3 separate regions of the Homo sapiens genome follow, and regions 1 and 3 are each linked to region 2. The links are contacts of gene promoters, found by promoter capture Hi-C in human tissues and cell types (Jung and others, 2019). All regions are on one chromosome and are shown on one strand. Each heading gives the region's core, a stretch centred on a gene start or on the middle of the fragment in contact. The rest is flanking DNA. Distances are from core to core; before and after follow the strand shown. Region 1 overlaps RNF167 (ring finger protein 167). Region 2 holds the start of UBE2G1 (ubiquitin conjugating enzyme E2 G1). Region 3 overlaps ITGAE (integrin subunit alpha E).

Region 1 (4,267 bases), core at 1-2,500, 580 kb before region 2:
GCACAGACATCATACTGGTCTCCTGGGACAGAAAGAAAATAATCTAGTCCTTCACTGAGCCACAATGACCCAGGGCTAAGGCTTTTAAAGCCTTGCAAAAATTTCCCCTCACCTACAAAGCCAGTGGAAGAGATAAGACAGGTAGGCAGGATAAGGTCAGGGCAGAACATGGAAGAATTTAGGGCTAGAAGGGACAAGCAAAGAGAAGCAGAGGTAAGAAGGGAAGTGGGTTTTTGGGGAGGTGTGAGGGTGGAGATAGGGAGTGGAAGGAACGGAAATGGGCAGGGCTTCTGCCACAGCCTTATACGGGCACTGGAGGCCCCAGGGCCTAAAGCCCCAGCCCCTTGGTACCGGTTTCTTCCTTCTCTAACTGAATCCTCCCCATTCCTCCCATTTTTCTGCTCTGTCCACATCCCCTATAAGCAAAGTCTATCCCTCTATTGTTTCCCACAATTATTTCACTTAATCATCTTTGCTTTCCATCTCCTCTCCCGTCTTCGTTGTATTTATGCATAAAAACAGAAGAAAAGACAGCATCTCAAGCTGAAACCTTCCTACTGCCATCTTTATTTTTATTATTATTTTTTTGAGAAAGGGACTCCCTCTGTCGCCCAGGCTGGAGCACAGTGGTGCAATCTCAGCCCCCGACAACCTCCGCCTTCCTGGTTCAAGTGATTCTCCTGTCTCAGTCTCCCAATTAGCTGGGACTACAAGTGCACACCACCATGCCCAGCTAATTTTATTTTTTTATAGAGATGGGGTCTCACCACATTGCCCAGGCTGGCCTGAACTCCCGGGGTCAAGGGATCCACTTGCCTCAGCCTCCTAAAGTGCTGGGACTTTTCTGTTTTATCATGTCACCCAGGCTGGTCTCAAACTCCTGGGCTCAAGTGACCTGCCCACCTTGGCCTCCCAAAGTACTGGGATTAGAGGCACTTGGGATTACGTGAGCCACTGTGCCCGGCCACTGCCATCTTTGTATACCCTATCTTCTGGGCTCAAAGTCCTTCAGAACCAGGTAAACTGTGGGAAAAGCCCTCTTCTCCCCTAACCCCCTCACCCTTCTGATAGTCATGTGTAGGAATCTGTTTCAGTTGCTCTTTGGTAAGTCGATTCCGCTGGAGCCGTTTCCGGTGCTGGATACAACGAGCTATCTGGGGGAAGCGGGGGTGGATGGACAAGGCTTAGGAACAAAACTAGACAATCTAGGACAAGCCACTCCCATCTCCCAACTCCAGATCCAGTCTGGCCTCACAGGCCTCAGTGCTTCCCATCATGTTCCCTCAGCTACTCACCATTACTGCTCCCATGGCCAAAACCAGCAGTCCCACAATCCCTGTGAAAGGGATGAGGTAATAGCCCAAGGGGAAGGTATTGTCTGGAACCAGAAGCACCCGAGCCCTGGGAAAAGGATGACCAGTCTCAGCAGGGCGAGAAAGGCAAAGGGAGAAAAAAAGAGGGACAAAGTAACTGGCTCTGGACAAAGCCCATAGGTGGGGACAGGAATGGGAAGAAAGTCAAAGAGGCAGGGAAGGAAGGACAGGAGGCTGAATGGTTCGGGTAATGAGGAGGCCTGGGCTCCAGGTTGGCATGGAACTGCTTGCTGAAGGAAGAATGGGAAGGAGGCACATGTCCTACCCCTTCTCGTAGACAAAGAGGGCACGCAGGTACTCGGAGCTTCTCTCCCCAATAAATACAGACGGGATCCAGATCTGCTGCTGGATTTCCTCTGCAGGGATCAAGGTGTTACTCTGGGGACTCACAACCTTCTACTCAAATCCTCTGGGAACCCTGGCATCTTGCACTTTGGCCCCACCCCACCTAAAGGATTGGCTTCTTTTCCTGAGGCCTTCAGCCTTCCCACCATCTCTGGGTCCTACTGAAAGCCCAGCTGTATAGATTCCCCCAGCCTTACCACTATTCCACACCATGTTCAGAAGTTCATTGGAATTCACATTGTGTACTACAGCGGCACCATATCCAGCCTTCTGGGCATTTAGGACCTAGGGAGACAAGGCAGAGGACAAGGAGCCATCATGGGCCTTACCTGTCTTCATTCCTGGTGCCTTTTTTTTACCCTCAGCTGCCCAGCTCCCCTTCCTCATTCAGCAACCTTGAGGTCAAAGTTGCAGTCGAATCTTCGAAGCAGCGCAATAAAGACTGACCCATTGACCGGGGCTGGGGGTGGTGGGGCAATGGGGCTGCAGGCATTGTCTGGGTGAGCCTCCACAAGGAACCCCTGAAGGATGGAAGCAAACAACAGTGAGATTTCTCCTTTCTAGATTCTGCTCTCTACAGGGGCCACCAAACACACCAGCCCACATGCTGCACATCCTCTATCCTCACTTCCTCCTCCTTCCTGGGGTCTGAGTGAGCATCCCACCATCACAACCTTCTCTTAGCCTCTTGAAAAGGCAATGACATAAAACATCCCTTCACCAAACTCTCCCATCATCCCTCTCGCTGTCCCAGATGGGCTAATCTGTACCCTATACTGCAAGCTAATGCAATTATTTTTGCCTTCTAATATTCCAATTGTAATTCAATTCTCAAACCACCCATGTCACTTTCTCTCAAGTTCTGTTTCACAGTCCCCTCTCCAGCACATACTCATACAGACACACTCCCCTCCCTTCAGTTTTCTTTTTGTTTTTCTTTTTTTTGAGATGGAGTCTCGTTTTGTCACCCAGGCTGGAGTGCAGTGGCGCGATCTCGGCTCACTGCAACCTCCACCTTCCGGTTTCAAGTGATTCTCCTGCCTCAGCCTCCCAAGTAGTTGGGACTACATGCGTGCACCATCACGCCCAGCTAATTTTTGCCATTTTAGTAGAGATAGGGTTTCTCCATGTTGGCCAGGCTGGTCTTGAACTGGGATTACAGATGTGAGCCACCGCGCCCGGCCTCTTCAATTTTCTAATTACCCATCTCACAAACAACTCGACTGCTACTAAGGCCCAACTGAGTTCTTGCTATGTGGCAGTCTTTGGGATGAAATACTACCAAAATTGCGTATCTACTTTGATCTTCACAATAACCCTAGGAAAACTTCTAATATCCCATTTTACAGTAAAACAAACTAAGGCTCAGAGAGATTAACTTGCCCAAAGTCATATAAGCAATAACTAGCACCTGAGACCTTCCTGATAAGGACCGTTGATCCTGCCTTCTGTCTTCGTCCACTTTCAGTCTCCCTGATAACCTCGGAGTTCCAGGGGTGGACACTCTGTCTTCTCCCTCTAGATTCTGGGTTCTACACTAGACGTGCTCAGTTCCTAACTTCATTTTCCTACCTCCAGTTTCACCCAGGACAAACCTCCCCAACCCCAGCCTAGGATGGAGGATCTTGCGAAATACTAAAAAAAGAAAAAAGACAGAAAAGGAAGGAAGGGAGGGAAGGAGGAAAAGAAAAGAAAGAAAATCACCTGGAGGCCCTCCTGGCTCAAGGTAGCCCCAAACAGAGCTGGAAGGTCTGCAAAGTCCATGCTGGCATTGTGGTCCGAGGTCTGCGGACAAAAAAGGCGATGTTCCCCTTCAGCCTGCAACCCTTCCTTTCAGCGCCCTTTCCCCATCCGTCCCTCAGACTCACCGCTCGAATGAGCCCCCGGGTCGGGGCCGCTCCCCACAGCACAGCGGCCACAACCACAGGAAGCGGGAAGGCTGCAGGGTGCATGGCAGCGGGAGGAAAGAGGCTGAGGAGGCCGCGCGTCCTGGTAGCAAGGAGCAGAAGCGGAGTTCTGCGCCCTCCCTGCCCCTCCTTTAGGATCCCAGGGGTCCAACCACCCCCAGGTCCCACTTCCCAGCTACATGGGGGCGCCGGGGAAGGAACACCAACTCAAAGAATGAGATATCCAACCCGTTTAGTGGAGCTGGGTGGGAGGCACTAAATGTATCCTTTTCTGGTACGGGGATAAAACGCGGAAAGGGGACGGAGCCTAACACAGGTGACAGAAAAACTTCGGGAAGGGTGGCGGAGCTCAAGGAGGTGGGACTTCCTGCTAGGTGGGCCGTGTTCCCAGCCTCTGGAAAAGGGCTTCCGGTAGAGAAAATCAGGCCGCTTTCAGCATTGGATGCTTGAGATGAAGGACTTCCGGTCCTAAAAGGCCGGTTAAAAAAAGGTTAGCGATGGAGGGACTGCCTGTGGAGATGGAAGGGGCACTGGTGGCCCAGAAGACGACCTAATAAAAGTGCCCGGAAACCCGGAGCCTCCTAGTTTACAAACCTCTCCTCCCTCTGGCCTCCGCCGCTCCTTCAAATCTCGCGAGAGTGC
Region 2 (4,439 bases), core at 1,892-4,391:
GGCCCAGGTGCAGTGGCTCACGCGTGTAATCCCAGCACTCTGGGAGGCCAAGGCGGGAGGATCGCTTGAGACCAGTTTGAGACCAGCCTAACCAACAAAGCGAGACCCACTCCTTGGACTTGGTCTGTCATACCAATGGCACCCAGTCACCCGGGTCAGGAGAGTCACCTGTGGTGCTCCCTGCTCTTTCCTATATCCCATAGATCACCAAGGCCTACATATTCTTTGTTTTTTCGTTTTTTGTTTTTTTTGAGACGGAGTTTCACTCTTGTTGCCCAGGCTGGAGTGCAATGGCACAATCTCAGCTCACAGCAACCTCCCCTTCCCGGATTCAAGCAATTCTCCTGCTTCGGCCTCCCAAGTAGCTGGGATTACAGGCATGCACCATCACGCCCGGCTAATTTCGCCTTTTTTTTTTTTTTTTTTTTTGAGACAGAGTCTTGCTCTGTCGCCCAGGCTGGAGTGCAGTGGTGCGATCTCGGCTCACTGCAACCTCTGCCTTCTGGGTTCAAGCGATTCTCTTGCCTCAGCCTCCCAAGCAGCTGGGACTACTATTAGCTGGCCACCACGCCCAGCTAATTTTTGTATTTTTAGTAGAGACGGGGTTTCACTATGTTGGTGAGGCTGGTCTTGACCTCCTGACCTCGTGATCCACCTGCCTTGGCCTCCCAAAGTGCTGGGATTATAGGAGTGAACCACTGCCCTAGGCCCTAATTTTGTATTTTTAATAGAGACGGGGTTTCTCCATGTTGGTCAGGCTGGCCTCGAACTCCTGACCTCAGGTGATCTGCCCGCCTCGGCCTCCCAAAGTGCGGGGATTACAGACGTGAGCCACCTCGCCTGGCCACCAAGGCCTAAATATTTTATGGACACTCCTTAATCCAAGTCTTAGTTACTGCCACAATCTCCATAAGGGTCTCCAGGCTTTAAAAATTTTTATTAAAATTTTAAAATGTTTATTAAAAAAATATTTTGGGCTGGGCATAGTGGCTCATGCCTGCAATTCCATCACTTTAGGAGGCTGAGGCGGGTGGATCACTTGAGCCCAGGAGTTCAAGACCAGCCTGGCCAACATGGTGAAACTCTGTCTCTACCGAAAATACAAAAATTCTCCAGCCATGGTGGCACAGGCCTGTAATCCCTGCCACTCAGGAGGCTGAGGCACGAGAATCACTTGAACCAGGGAGGCAGAGGTGCAGTGACCTGAGATTGTGCCACTGTACTCCAGCCTGGGCGACAGAGGGAGACTGTTTCAAAACAAAACAAAACACACTTTTTTGTAGCGATAGGGTCTTGCTCTGTCACCCAGGCTAGTCTCTAGCTCCTGGCCTCAAGTGATCCTCCTGCGTGGAGTTTCCAAAGAGCTGGGATTACAGATGAGAGCCACCACAGCCTGCAGGGCACTGGTCTTGACCCTCCCTCCCTCATCAATTCTCTGCAGCCACAGCAAAACATTCAAAATGCAAGTCTGCTATTTTTCTACTCCTAGTTAAAACTTTTCAGGGGCCTCCCACTGTTTAAGGATTAGGTTCAATTTCTAAACCTTTATCCAGCCCTGATCTTTCACCAGATTTGGAAATTATTACAAAAAATAAATCTTTTTTTTTTTTTTTTTTACAAAAAATAAATCTTAAGAAACTAGGAATAGGCCGGGCACAGTGGCCCTTGCCTATAATCCTAGCATTTTGGGAGGCTGAGGCAGGCGGATTGCCTGAGTTCAGGAGTTCGAGACCAGCCTGGGCAACATGGTAAAACCCCATCTCTACTAAAATACGAAAGAAAATTAGCCTGGCCTGGAGGCGTGCGCCTGTAGTCCCAGCTACTCAGGAGTCTGAGGCAGGAGAATTGCTTTAACTCGGGAACCTGAGAGGCAGAGGTTGCAGTGGGCCAAGATCACGCCACTGCACTCCAGCCTGGGCGACAGAACAAGGCTGTCTCAAAAAATAAATAAATAAATAAATAAAATAAAAAAGAAAGAAACTAGGAATAGAAGTAAATTTCCTTGATTTGGTAAAGTGAAATATCAAAATGGTCCCTTTGGTCTATTTGATAGGGGGCAGTGGTTCACACTTGTAATGCTAACACTTTGGGAGGCCGAGTTGGAAGGACTGCTTGAACCCAGGAGTTTGAGACCAGCCTGGGCAACACAGAGAGACCTCTGGCCCCCCCCTCCTTTTTTTTTTTTTTTGTGAGACGGAGTCTCTCTCTGTCGGCCATGCTGGAGTGCAGTGGCACCATCTCGGCTCACTGCAATCTCTGCCTCCTAGGTTCAAGCAATTCTCCTTTCTCAGCCTCCCTGGTAGCTGGGAGTACAGGCGCCTGCCACCAGGCTGGGCTAATTTTTGTATTTTTAGTAGAGACCAGGTTTCACCATGTTGGCCAGGATGGTCTCGAACTCGTGACCTCAGGTGATCTGCCCACCTCGGCCTCTCAAAGTGCTGGGATTACAAGCATGAGCCACCGCGCCCCGTCAAACCCCCCGATCTCTATAAAGCAAATAAAAAAATAGCAGGGCATGGTGGTGTGTACCTGTAATCCCAGATACTAAGGAGACTCAGATGGGAGGATCCCTTAAGCCCAGGAGTTCCAAGCTGCAGTGAGCTATGATCACTGCACTCCAGCCTGGGCGACAGAGAGAATTGCCGTCCATAAATGATAATAATAACAGGGCCGGTCTCGGTGGCTCAATAATAATAGGGCCGGACGCGGTGGCTTTTTTTGTGCACTCTTCATGTAAAGTGAGTTATCATCATATATTGCCTCTATTTTGATGTTTGGTTAAAATGGGGCACACCAGTACTAACTTCGGCTTTCTAACAATTCCTACTTCGCACACCATGTGGCAGTGTTAGATGGCTTTTGGGCGCTCGCCAAGGACTAGACATCTACCACTTCTTCTGGCCTCTTCGCTCCTATATCCACTGCTTCAATCCAGAGGCTGTATTTGACCCTCTGCGACCTCTTTGTCATGGCGTCCGCGGGGCGTCTACCAGCGGAGGCTTGGGCTGGCAGCCGGGCGTCGACCTTCCCAAAATGGCGGCGGACGGGACAACTGCGCTCAAGGGGCGGGGTTCCGCCGCCGGGGGCGGGGCGGGAGGCCGAGGGGTCGGGCTAGCGGGCGGGACGCTTCCCAAGTCGGCAGTCTCAGCGCGCCTGCGCCGAGCGGCCCTGCGCGCAGTGAGGCAGTGGCGGGGGAAGGCACCGGTGGGGCCGACGGGCGGGTTGAAGGAGGGAAGCGGGCGAGCGAAGTCCCAGTGCGCGCCGCGGCAGCCCGGGCACCCTCCCCTTCCGGGCGTGAGTCGCTGTGAAAAGAGCTGAAGCGAGCGGACTCGCACCGGCAGCGAGGCGCCGCTCCCGCCGCCTCAGCCCGGCCTTCCTCGGCTCCGGCGCTCCGGTCGCGGGGCCCGGGTTCCTCGGCACACCCCGCTCCAGCCGCCCCCAGAGCCTGTCCCCAGCCCTTCGGAAGCCCCGGCGCCAGCCCGGGCCCTCGGCAGGGAGGATGACGGAGCTGCAGTCGGCACTGCTACTGCGAAGACAGCTGGCAGGTGAGCAGGCGGGCGGCGGGGCGCCGGGCCCGGCCGCGATCGCGGACAGCCGCAGCCCAGTCCCTCTTCTCCTCCCGGGCCAGCGGCCGTACTGCCGAAGGGGCCCGGGCCTGCGAGGGTGGGGACCTCGAGGCTCCGGTCCCGGCCGGGCCCAGCCGTTCTCGCCCGGCTCTTGGAGGGCACTGGGGGCGGGGACGCGACCCAGCTCCGGCCCAGGGACTGGGCCTGGCGCCCGGGGGGTCGGAGAGGAGGAGGTCCCCTCCCCCACCGTTCTGTAGGACGTTGCGGGGGAGGGGCTGTGTGCGGGTCCCCAGGCCGGGGCCGCCAGCTTGGAGGGGCGGGTCCCGGGTTCAGGTGCTGCCGGGGCCGCCGGACCTTCGGGGCCGGCTGGAGCGTCCGGACCCAGTGCGGCTGCGAGTCCCCGGCTCGGTGTCTGAGGGCGGGCGGAAGGGACCGGCCCTGGCGGGATAGGTGAGGCGCACAAAACTTCTCCCCGGGCGGCGCTGGGTCCGCGGAGTTGGGGCCGACAACAAAAGCGCTGGCCTCGGCGGCCTCCACGCGGGCGCGAGGGTGCCGGAGACCCTGGCGGAGTGCGGATCGCCGCCTCGCCTGCCTCCGCCTGGCACGGGCTCCGGCTGCGCCGCCCGGCTGGGGGAGGGTAGGAGCGGGCCGCGGGGAGAGCCGCTCGCTGGCCGGCTCCGGGCTTTGTGCTCGCCGCGATTCCGGCTGCTGCGCAGGCCTGCAAACCCCGGAGCTGCGCCCGCAGGCTCTGGCCCGGGGCGGCGGCCGGGTCGGCCTCCCCGAGGAGCCTGCGGCCCCCCTCCCCCATTGTCCCGGCCTCCGGCCGTTTGCGGCTTCCAGGTTGACTTTTTAGGGGGTTGGCTCCTACTCTGC
Region 3 (4,228 bases), core at 1,315-3,814, 570 kb after region 2:
GGGCCGCGTATCGCCCCATTTGATCTGCACAGCCCCATGTCCCAGAGGGGAGACGGAAGCGAGGTGCCAAGCCCAGGGTCCTTCAGTGACTCCAAGGCAGTGAGGATTTGAACTCAAGACCATCTACCAAGACAATGCTGTTTTCTGAGTCCTGGTGGGAAATGCAACAGGAGGTGGTTTCCTGATGGAGGCGCAGCTCAAAGGCAAACTGTTGGGCCTGGGGCGAGTCCAGTCTGAGGAAACAAGCTGAGCCAGGCCTGGCAGACCTGGGCACCAGCTGGCTCTCAGGGAAAGCCCAGCAAATACAGCGAACTACCCCACCACACACACACACACACACACACGGATGCACACACACACACACACGGATGCACACACATGGATGCACACACAGGGATGCACACAGGGATGCACACACACGGATGCATACACAGGGATGCACAAACACGGATGCACACACACAGATGCACACACGGATGCACACGCACACACGCGCACATGGATGCACACACGGATGCACACACAGATGCACACACGGATGCACACACGCACACACAGGGATGCACACACGGATGCACACACACGGATGCACACACACGGATGCGCATACACAGATGCACACACACGGATGCACACGCACACGGATGCACATGGATGCACACACACAGATGCACACATGCACACACAGGGATGCACACGGATGCACACAAGCACACACGGATGCACACACATGCACACACGCACGTACACAGTCTCATGCCACCGTGCCTCTGCGGCAGGCTCTTGCTGACCTAGTTACCAGCCCTGTAAGCAGAGCCCTGCTCCAGCTCAGTGAGCCGCCGCACGGCAGGAGCAGTGCCCAGCTTCTTGAGGCCATTTGTGACCCTGGCCTCTCTCTGTTTACCAACCCCTCGGTGCCTCCAGCTATTACTAAAGGCTTTGAAATCGGGCATAAACACAGAATCTGAGCCCCAGACACAAATATTCAATCTTCCGACGGGCCATGCACAAACCACACCCCTCTCTGAGCCTCAGCACCTAGCGTGGTGCCTGGAAGGCAACAGGTGCTCTGGGGGAGCGGAACCCTCAGTTGAACAAGATCTCTGTTGAACAAAGTGAACACAGGGGTGGGGTGGCGTGAGGAAAGGGAATATCTGGCCCACTCTGACCTTTTTAGAGCACCTTTTTTGGGTGGGCCTGGCCCTGCGCTGAGCTGGGCTCTGTGGCTGGGGGTGTTGTGTGTGACTCAGATCACATCACAGTTCAGGGCAGACAAACTGAATCACAGATCACCCTGATCCAGACAGAATTTGGTCACAGCCAGACAGACCACAGGATGCTGAGGGGGCTCAGGGTTTGGTCAGAGCCAGACAGACCACAGGGTGCTGAGGGGGCTCAGGGACCCGGGAGTTACTCTGACTGAGTCTGGATTGGCTCCTGGCTCCTGGCTGGCTGAGCAGGGCCACAAAAGACGGGCTTTGCAGACAGAGGTGGAGAGTGCTGAGCAGGCCTGCTGGGTGGAGGGAGCCGCTGTGTCGAGGCCTGGAGGCAGGAGTGTGCAGAGGGTGCGCCGGGCAGAGCGGGGGGGTGCCACGGACGCCCAGGAGAGGAGACTGGACTTTGCTCTGCGGCCTCCACTCGTGCCTTTTCAGTTATACCGACAGTGAAACGGGGGGAAGAAGGCCCCCCACCCACCCCTCGTAACATGTTGGCAGCTCGCACTTTTTAATTCTCCTCTAGGCAGTTTGCTGACGTCCTGTTTTTTCCCCAGAGTGACTGACCAGGAGGCACAGGGCTCAACGTGACGTGGGCCCCGGGGCCGGAGCCCAGACTCCCTACTGGGCGTCCTTTATCTCAGTTCTGGATTCGTGGGGGAGCAGCGGGAACAGTACGGCCTTCTTCCCTGCCTAGGGGTCTTGATCTGGAACCTTTGAGAGTCTATGTAGGCTGTAAGTGGCCACTCTCCCAGCACCTACCGAGGGTGGGCCACCATGCCAGGCCCTGAGATAATGTGGCGATCGAGGCAGATGCAGTGTGTGCCCCCTTGGACTCACTGGTGGCAGGGGGCAGTCACTGGCAATAGGGAAACAAGGAAGGCCAAGCACAGTGGCTCACTCCTGTAATCCCAGCACTTAGGGAGGCCAAGACTGGAGGATCACTTGAGCCCAGGAATTTGAGTCCAGCCTGGACAACATAGCAAGACCCCCATCTCTACAAAAAATTTAAAAAAAAATTAGAGGCCAGGCACGGTGGCTCACGCCTGTAATTCCAGCACTTTAGGAGGCCGAGGCGGGCGGATCACAAGGTCAGGAGTTCAAGACCAGCCTGACCAACATGGCAAAACCCCGTCTCTACTAAAAATACAAAAATTAGTCCGGTGTGGTGGCAGGTGCCTGTAATCCCAGCTACTTGGGAGGCTTAGGCAGGAGAATCGCTTGAACCCAGGAGGCGGAGGTTGCAATGAGCCGAGATCGTGCCATTGCACTCCAGCCTGGGCGACAATAGCAAGACTCCATCTCAAAAAAAAAAAAAAAAAAAAAAGGATGAAGAGGAAGCCAGGAGACAGGCTGAGGACAGAGCACTTCAATCAGGCAAGGGGAGGATTTTGTACACATGTGCACTCAGGGGATCAGGAAGGGCTCCAATGCTTCCATCAGATTCTCAAAGGGGGCCAGGTGCAGTGGCTCACACCTGTAATCCCAGCACTTTGGGAGGCCAAGGTGGTGGATCACGAGGCCAGGAGTTCGAGACCATCCCGGCTAACACGGTGAAACCACATCTCTACTAAAAATACAAAAATTAGCCAGGAGTGCTGGCATGTGCCTGTAGTCCCAGCTACTCCAGAGACCCAGTATTTTGAGTCCTGGCCTACACTCGGTAGGTGCTGGGAGAGTGGCCACTTACAGCCTACATAGACTCTCAAAGGTTCCAGATCAAGACCCCTAGGCAGGGAAGAAGGCTGTACTGTTCCTGCTGCTCCCCCACGAATCCAGAGCTGAGATAAGGGATGCCCAGTAGGGAGTCTGGGCTCCGGCCCCAGGGCCCACGTGAGACAGGAGAATCACTTGAACTGAGGAGGTGGGGGTTGCGGTGAGCCAAGATCACACCATTGCAGTCCAGCCTGGGTGACAGAGTGAGACTCCAACTCAAAATGAAGAAAAAAAGGCCGGGCATGATGGCTCACACCTGTAATCCCAGCACTTTGGAGGCTGAGGCAGGTGGATCAGGACGTCAGGAGATGGAGACCAGCCTGGCCAATATGGCGAAACCCCATCTCTACTAAAAATACAAAAAATTAGCTGGGCATGGTGATGGGCACCTGTTTTCCCAGCTACTCAGGAGGCTGAGGCAGGAGAATCGCTTGAACCCGGGAGGCGGAGGTTGCAGTGAGACGAAAGTTGTGCCACTGCATTCCAGCCTGGGCGACAGAGTGAGACTCTGTCTAAAAAAAAAAGAAAAAAGAAAAAGATTCTCAAAGGGATCCATTACCCCCAAACAAGAACGTCTGGTCTGGTTATGTTTCCTGTGTTTTCTACTTTGGGGCATTGGCAGGGAGGACACAAATCACAGGTCTGCAAAAGCTGGGGTGCAGGGTTTCTTCATTGTGTTCTCACAAAGGACCCTTAGGGACAGTTTTTTCTCTGATTTGAATAACCAGACTGGTTGTGCTTTGCCTGGAAGTGTTTTGTTTTTTGAATTTTGTGGACACCGCATGGCATTAACTGATCTTTTTCATGTTGATATCACCTTCAAGAAAGCTTCATTCATTCATGTATGCGTTGAATCAACAAATGATTTTATTAAGCCAAAGGATTTTAGGAACACTTCTGTGAGCCAGCGCTGTGTTCAGAGCCAACAGTGGGGCACGTGATAGAAAGTGCTGGCACTGCGTGATCTACATGTTAGCTGTTGGCCTCCTTCCTGGCTTGTTGTATCCCCCTCTTTTTTTAAACCATCATTTTCCTTCTGTTCTTTTTTGCCTGCCCCATTATTTTAAGCGAGTTTTATCTTACCTGTATTATGTATTTTTATGAATCACCACAAATCATTCCAGGCGAGGCAGAGATGTGAAGAAAAAGGAATAAAATATAGATATCAGGCCGGGCGCGGTGGCTCACGCGTGTAATCCCAGCACTTTGGGAGGCCAAGGCGGGCGGATCACCTGAGGAGTTCAATACCAGCCTGGGCAATATGGTGAAACCCCACCTCTACTAAAAATACAAAAATT

What was found. Contacts are between HindIII fragments. The study calls those that stand out against the background at their distance.
Region 1: a fragment that was not itself captured here is called in contact with the fragment with the promoter of UBE2G1 in region 2 in 1 of the 25 tissues and cell types used here (spleen).
Region 3: a contact is called between a fragment that was not itself captured here and the fragment with the promoter of UBE2G1 in region 2, in 1 of the 25 tissues and cell types used here (aorta).

Annotation. Positions count from the first base shown.
Region 1 is chr17:4,940,313-4,944,579 of GRCh38, reverse strand. It overlaps RNF167 (ring finger protein 167), which reads right to left. Exons shown (of 10, transcript NM_015528.3): 1 at 4,220-4,267; 2 at 3,587-4,093; 3 at 3,423-3,503; 4 at 2,114-2,239; 5 at 1,916-2,003; 6 at 1,639-1,729; 7 at 1,296-1,401; 8 at 1,061-1,154; 9 at 1-22. The coding sequence starts at 3,670. Among named protein-coding and RNA genes, the nearest start is that of RNF167, 2.2 kb to the right of the region's middle. RefSeq lists enhancers at 141-190, 1-368, 3,405-3,534 and a silencer at 3,868-4,062. The HindIII fragment of the contact is 4,639 bases long and covers 1-3,569 here.
Region 2 is chr17:4,365,377-4,369,815 of GRCh38, reverse strand. It overlaps UBE2G1 (ubiquitin conjugating enzyme E2 G1), which reads left to right and starts at 3,141. Exons shown (of 6, transcript NM_003342.5): 1 at 3,141-3,545. The coding sequence starts at 3,500. RefSeq lists enhancers at 20-69, 3,008-3,302, 3,122-3,808 and silencers at 2,971-3,670, 3,721-4,439. The HindIII fragment of the contact is 21,131 bases long and covers 1-4,439 here.
Region 3 is chr17:3,792,287-3,796,514 of GRCh38, reverse strand. The region is part of intron 1 of ITGAE (integrin subunit alpha E); the gene reads left to right. Among named protein-coding and RNA genes, the nearest start is that of ITGAE, 6.8 kb to the left of the region's middle. RefSeq lists enhancers at 165-886, 1-1,023, 1,077-1,126, 887-1,608, 1,609-2,331. The HindIII fragment of the contact is 5,173 bases long and covers 1-4,228 here.